Linked DNA regions of Homo sapiens: region 2 is linked to region 1. Evidence: promoter capture Hi-C in human tissues and cell types (Jung and others, 2019). All regions are on one chromosome and are shown on one strand. The core of a region is centred on a gene start or on the middle of the fragment in contact, and the rest is flanking DNA. Distances in the headings are between cores, read along the strand shown.

Evidence for each region. Contacts are between HindIII fragments. The study calls those that stand out against the background at their distance.
Region 2: a fragment that was not itself captured here is called in contact with the fragment with the promoter of C15orf39 in region 1 in 3 of the 25 tissues and cell types used here (dorsolateral prefrontal cortex, lymphoblastoid cells and spleen).

The regions. Positions count from the first base shown.
Region 1 is chr15:75,200,097-75,203,403 of GRCh38, forward strand. C15orf39 (chromosome 15 open reading frame 39) reads left to right here and starts at 1,786. Exons shown (of 3, transcript NM_015492.5): 1 at 1,786-1,963. RefSeq lists enhancers at 1-122, 1,389-2,111 and silencers at 1,593-2,752, 2,873-2,922. The HindIII fragment of the contact is 11,571 bases long and covers 1-3,307 here.
Region 2 is chr15:75,039,009-75,042,209 of GRCh38, forward strand. All of the region lies in intron 2 of PPCDC (phosphopantothenoylcysteine decarboxylase), which reads left to right. Among named protein-coding and RNA genes, the nearest start is that of PPCDC, 17 kb to the left of the region's middle. The HindIII fragment of the contact is 3,829 bases long and covers 1-3,201 here.

The DNA of each region.
Region 1 (3,307 bases), core at 536-3,035:
AAGGCAGGTCTCTCACTGCTCTCTTTTTGCAATGAGGAAATTTGAGGCTCAGAAAGTTACAAAGTAGCTCCCAAGTCCCCCAGTGTTGCCTCCTTTCTTTGGCAGTCCAGGGTGTTTAAGTGATGCCGAAAAGGAACAGACATACTGTTGAGTGGGGCTGCTGTCTGTGTGAGGTGTCCCTGAATTAACACAAGGCTCAGCAGTGCTGCAAATCTTAACTAGCCCCTATTGTCTCAGATGGCTGCTCATCCTGGCCTGGTTGGGTCCCATTCCAACTCAGGGAAATTGGAGAGACCACTGGGCACATCTGAGCACACAACCTGAGCGTCCTAGACCCCAAGGGCTAAGAACACAGCCCTCCTTCCACCCCACTAGCAGGGCAGGGACAGGGTCGCCGGCGCGGTGCTGGAGGAGGAGGGGCGAGCAGAGTTGGTAAGGGGCAAGAGCAGTGAATAGCCTGTGACCCACGGGGCTGCAGGCTGGGGTTAAGGGTATGATGTTTGGTGTGACCCCTAGCTGTCCGCGCGCAGATGTATTTTCCTGACGCTAAGGTGTGGCTGCAGGAAGGGCCCCAGGCTGGGAGCCAGGAGATCTGGGATTTTGTCCCAGCCTGCTGAGTGACCTGGGGAAAGCCCCAACCCTCTCTGAGTGTCTCTCCCTATATGGTTCCCGACTCTATTTCTAAGGTCCTTCCAGCTCTAAATGAAGTGACACTCTCCCCCCACCTCCCGCCCCCGCTCCCCAGGTGACCTCACTTCCTCTTCCTACCTGCAGCGCCCAGCCCCTCCTCCTCAGCTCCAGCTGCTCCAGCTGCTTGGTGATTCTTGGAACCTGCAGCCTCAGGCCTGCTCTGCTCTGACTCAGGCAGAACTTACCTTTGGGATCTGAGGGGATAGTTTTGCTTCCTGAACTGACTCTGACCTTTGGCATGTCCACCTGCCCTCCCCTTCCCCACTGCACACACCTGTTCCCAGTCCTCGGGCAGCCCAGGAGCTTTGACGGACCAGATTCCTTCAGATAAAGTAGCAGCACTGAGGGGCTCTCATCCACAGTCAGATGGTCCAGGGAGAGGCACCCCTTCCCCCCTCCAGCCTCTCTTTGCAACACACCATTCCTGGCTGGGCGTGCTCCACTCCACCCGCCTCACAGGCTGCGCGCCGGTCTGCCTCATGGAGGGAGCCTCACCCAGGCTACTTTGCAAATCCCCCAGCACCCTCATTCCCGGCCCTTCCAGGGATGGGGAGATTGCCGCTTCCTCAGACAGTTGCCGTGCCCTAGCAGGAGTCTGGAAATTGCCCTCATTGACTACAACGAAATGAGGGGACAGATCAAGGAGCCCTTCTCCAGCCCCCTAATACACTAGTGCTGGACAGGGGAATGCCGGCACCTACTGTGTGCCAGATATTTGCAAACACCCTTTTCCAAGCTTACACCGCCACCGCTATGAGGAAGACAGAATTCCACTTTTGCAAATAAGGAAACTGAAGCTCAGCGAGGTCAAGCGGCAGGCGCAAGGTCACATCGCAGCAAGTGGCAGTGAATGAACGATCTAAGGGAGCGACTGAGGGCGCGTGACGGGCCCGCCGGGCACTGGTTCGTGGAGCGTGGCGGTTACGGGCGGTGCACAGCGCCCGCAGCCCGCTCCTAGCGAGCTGGCCCCACGCGGGCCCTCCGCACCCGCTGCCCACAGGAGCGCAGGCTCCCAGAGGCGGGGCCGGGCTCTTCCCCAACCCTGCGAGTCGCCCCGCCCCCGCCCCGCCCCCAGCCCGCCCCGCCCGGGACCGCAGACGGCGCCCAGCGGCGGCGCGAACGGCAGCTAGGAGGGTTGCTCCGGGCTTGGTGCTCACTGCGACTTCCCGCGCAGGGCCCGGTCGGACTAGGACCCGCGGCCTGAGAGACGCTGGAGGATGCGGACGCGGAGGCCGCCTGGGGTAGCGGCGGCGGGAGTCCTGGCGCTCTGCAGGTAGGAGCTCGCCCGCTCGGCGGGCGCGGAAACTTGGGCCGAGTTTGCGGGCGGCGCGTGGAGAAGGGGCGGGTGGCGCTGCCCCAGGGCGCCCCTACCGGCCGGCCCGGGGACTGAGGGAGCCGCGCCTGGGCCGAGGGGCTGCGGCTTCTGGCTGCCGCCGGCCCCCCGCGAACGGGCTGCGGGGCAGGGGTGGCGCTGCTGCTCCGACTTTCCCCGGACTTCGAGGCTCCCGGGACCTGGTAGCGCTCTGGGTCTCCGGCGGAGAACAGGCGCCTAATCTGGCGAGAAGGAACTCAGGCCGAGCCCTCCGGCCTCCCGCAGGACCCTGTCACGTGGATTGCTGGGGGATGGCGTTGAGGAGGAGGTATGGGGACAAGGGGGCACTGGAGGGCTGGGCCTGGGGGCGCCGGGCGCTGAGGCACCGCGGGGCCCTGGACGCGCCCTGCTGGGATGGGACGGCCCTGCGGTTTTCTCGCCACCTCTTGACTCACCCCTCTGGCCTCAGCCCAGGCTGGCAGGATCGCCCTGAGGCGGAGGCTGCCCGGACCCTGTCGCCGGGCCGCCCCTGTTCCGGGACCTCCCGCCGGTCCGCGGGCGTCGGTGTGGGGCTGGGTGCGCGGGCCTGCCTGCGTGCACACGTATGCCCGGGGCCCGAGCGAGGGGAGAGCGCAGTTCTGGAATGGCGTGTGTGCAGATGTGGGCCATGCACGTACGTGCAGGCACGGGTTTGCATGCGTGGCGGCGGCCTGTGTGTCAGCCTGCTGGATGCACGTGCGTCTCGGCGCCGCCGGGAGGGGCTTGGGGACACCCGGAAGCCCGCCAGGTCGGGTGCGGCGGCAGCCTCTAAGCGAAATCGGCTGTGGGCCCTAGGCACCCGAGTTATGTTCAGGGCGGGTAGGGGAAAGGGGATAGAGACCGATCCCGTTCGCTTTCCCCTCCACTGGAGACTTTGGGCTGCCCCAGGTTGGGTTGTAGCGTCTGGAGAGCCCAGAGCCTCAGGTAGGGAAGGTGGGAGATGGGAGAACACTCGGCGAGGCCCGATCCAGCCCTCCGGGAGAATCCAGATGCTGGCCACAATTGGGCAGGAATCGCGCTCTTCTTCCTGGTCTTTGCCATCGGCCATCCCGAGGCCCCTAGAAGGTGAAAGTGGGAACAGAGAGCTGTTTCCTTTCCCACTGCGTAAGGCAGGGGCGGTGCTGCGGTGGTGGGCTCTTCTCCGGGACCCTGGCCTGGGTGCTGGCTGAGTGACGTTGGAGCTTGGCAGAGAGGATCAACAGAGCTGCCTCTCAAGGATGATCTGAGCCTGCTCCCTGGGCACCTGCCCTTTCCGAGAGCTTGCTT
Region 2 (3,201 bases), core at 555-3,054, 160 kb before region 1:
GTGTAGTCTCTCATCTTTAAGTTTTCTTCTCCCTCTATTGTCTCTGGGTTTCTATTTTCTGTTTGTTTGTGTAATCTCTTTCTTGCTAGAGGACTCTCCTCAGATATCTGATACTCCTTGGCTGTTCTTATTTGGGTGCCAAAAGTTGATTGGAAACTCTGTCTTCACTGCCAGGGACTTGGTACTCATCTGGTATTGAAATGTTTTGTTGGTGGACCTCTGAATTCCATATCTGAAGGTTTCCTTCCCTACCACATCTCCCTACTGCCAGGGTTATTTGTTTTTTCCAGAAGGACCCTATCAGTAGTCTCCTGCCTGGTTGACCTTGCGTTCTTAGGGTCAAGTAGGGGAAGCAGGCTTGGGTCTCTGTTTGGTCTGTAGATACTCACTTCTGCTCCAGGACTCCTTTGACCTCTGTTGTGCTAACTCTGCAAGGGTAGTATGTTTGGCTGCCTTGGGTGGGAAGAAGACCTGGGGGGACTTTAGCTGTTCCTTCTACAGGTCAGGAAGTCCTCCTGTATTCAGCTATCTGCCTCATGCTCACCTTTGTGGTACTCACTGCCTCAAGTCCTAGGCTCCTGGGCTCTAATTGGCTTGTGTCTCAGTTACTGTGTAGGCTTTGGATATTTTCTTTTCTCATCTAATCTAATCTTATCTTGTAGGATCTGCTCTGCTAGTGCTTCCTTTCGCTTCCATCTTCTGAAAGCGCATTGGCACGTCTTAACTGCTGTTGGTTCCTCTTCTTTTTGTTCTTGAGAATTTACTTCTTTTCTTTCTTTGTTTTTTTTTTTTTGAGATGGAGTTTCACTCTTGTTGCCCAGGCTGGAGTGCAATGGTGCGATCTCAGCTCACTGCAACCTCCACCTCCCAGGTTCAAGCGATTCTCCTGCCTCAGCCTCCCGAGTAGCTGGGATTACAGGCATGCGCCACCACACCCGGCTAATTTTGTATTTTTAGTAGAGATGGGGTTTCTCCTTGTTGGTCAGGCTGATCTCGACCTCCCCACCTCAGGTGATCTGCCCACCTTAGCCTCCCAAAGTGGGATTACAGGCGTGAGACACCATGCCCAGCCGTTCTCTTCTCTTCTATTCCTTGACAAGGTCTCACTTTGTCACCCAGGCTGGAGTGCAGTGGCATGATCTTGGCTCACTGCAGCCTCGACTTCCTGGGCTCAACTGATCCTCCCACCTTGGCCTCCAGAGTAGCTGGGACTATAGGTGTGTGCCACGATGCTGGCTAATTTTTTTGTATTAGAGATGTGGTTTCACCACGTTGCCCAGGCTGGTCTTGAACTCCTGGCCTCAAGCAATCTGCCTGCCTCAGTCTCCCAAAGTGCTGGGATTACAGGCGTGAGCCACTGAGTTTAGATCGTTTTAAAAAAAATTACTTTACTTTTATTTTAATGGGCTTCTGGGAGGGAGCAGAGTTTACCTTATTTAACTAAAAGCTTTTTCTTCTATTTAACCTTTATATGTTCTTTTGCTTTAAATTTATCTTTTTATACAAGATATTGATGGATTAAACAATATCCAAGATAAGAATCTGAATTTTAATACAGAAGATGAGCCTGTTATATATTTACTATAATTATTATTATATTAGGATTTACCTATGCTGTCTTATTTAATGCTTGCTTGCTTTTTATTTTTTTATTTTTTTATTTTTTTTGGAGTTAGGGTCTCACCCTTTCACCCAGGCTGGAGTGCAGTAACTTGATCTCTGCTCACTGCAGCCTCTGCCTTCCCAGGCTCAAGGGCTCCGCCCACTTCAGCTTCCCGAATATAGCTGGGACTACAGGCGCACACCACCATGCCTGGCTAATTTTTGTATTTTTTGTAGAGATGGGGGTCTCACCATGTTGCCCAGGCTGGTGTTGAACTCCTGGGCTCAAGCAGTCTGCCTGTCTCGGCCTTCCAAAGTGCTGGGATTACAGGCATGAGCGTAATCCCATTACTGCTCCCGGCCAAATGCTTTATCATATATTCTCTCTGCTTCTTTTTCTCCTTTCGTATCCTTTATGTGTAGATTGAATTTCCTTCTGTGGGTTTGAAAGGTAAAGGTTATTCTTCTTATGGTTACCATAACTTATTGTGCCCTCTTCTTTACCTCATCACTATCTTGTGTCTTCCCCACGAAAGAGACAGGGCCTTCAGCATGGCCCCGCCCTGCCCTGCTCTCCCAACCTGTGCTGGCCCAGTGGCATCTCCAGGACTGGGTTCCGGGGAGGGATAATGCAGCCCTGCTCATTTGCCATCTTACTCAGAACTGGGCAAGGCTTATTCAGGGCCATCCTAGGGAGACTCCAGCATTCAGTGGGAGTTTGGTTTAAATGACCTCTAGGCTGGGCATGGTGGTTCATGCTTGTAATCCTAGCACTTTGAGAGGCCAAGGTGGGTGGATTGCTTGAGCCTAGGAGTTTGAGATAATTCTGGGCAACATGGTGAAACACTGTCTCTACCGAAAATACAAAAAATTAGCTGGGCATGGTGACATGCACCTGTAGTCCCAGCTACTCAAGAGGCTGAGATGGGAGGATCACCTGAGCCCAGGGCAGTTGAGGCTGCAGTGAGCCATGATCACACAACTGCACTCTATCCTGGGCAATGGAGTAAGACTCTGTAAATAAATAAATAAGTGATGGACCTCTGAAAAGGTCCTTGAGGTTTTTTTGCAGGTTCTGGGCATGGTAGATCCTAAGGGGGAGTGAGATGGAGAATGGACAAGTCAATAGAACTCAGAACGCCAGACTTTCTGAAGTTCTTCCTCAGTCTTCTTCTCTGAGACTTCTACTCCTTGGTCCTAGCTTTGTTCCTAGGCGCTGTGCCGCTGTGTCATCCACCCTGCCCTGTACAATATGCAGGAAGCAAGCGAGGAGGGGGTGCCTCAGAGAGACAGTAAGGAGGAATGAGGACAAGGTGGAATTGGCATGGGCACGTCCTACAGAGTGAGAGGCAGGCCTTAGGGCACCACGTCGCTCTCACGTAGGAATGTGTGTCCAGCAGCGCCTAGCCTTCAGCTTTTCACAAGAACTCAGGAAATTGAATTTTCTATGCGAAATCTTCCAACTTGGACATGTTGGCTCAAAAATGTTAATAATCTTGTGTAGGCCAAACAGCATGTCTATAGGCTGGGTCTGGCCCAGACATGGCCCATGACTATAGCTCTGGCTGGTTGATGGTTCTGTCCTTGTCACCCTTGACT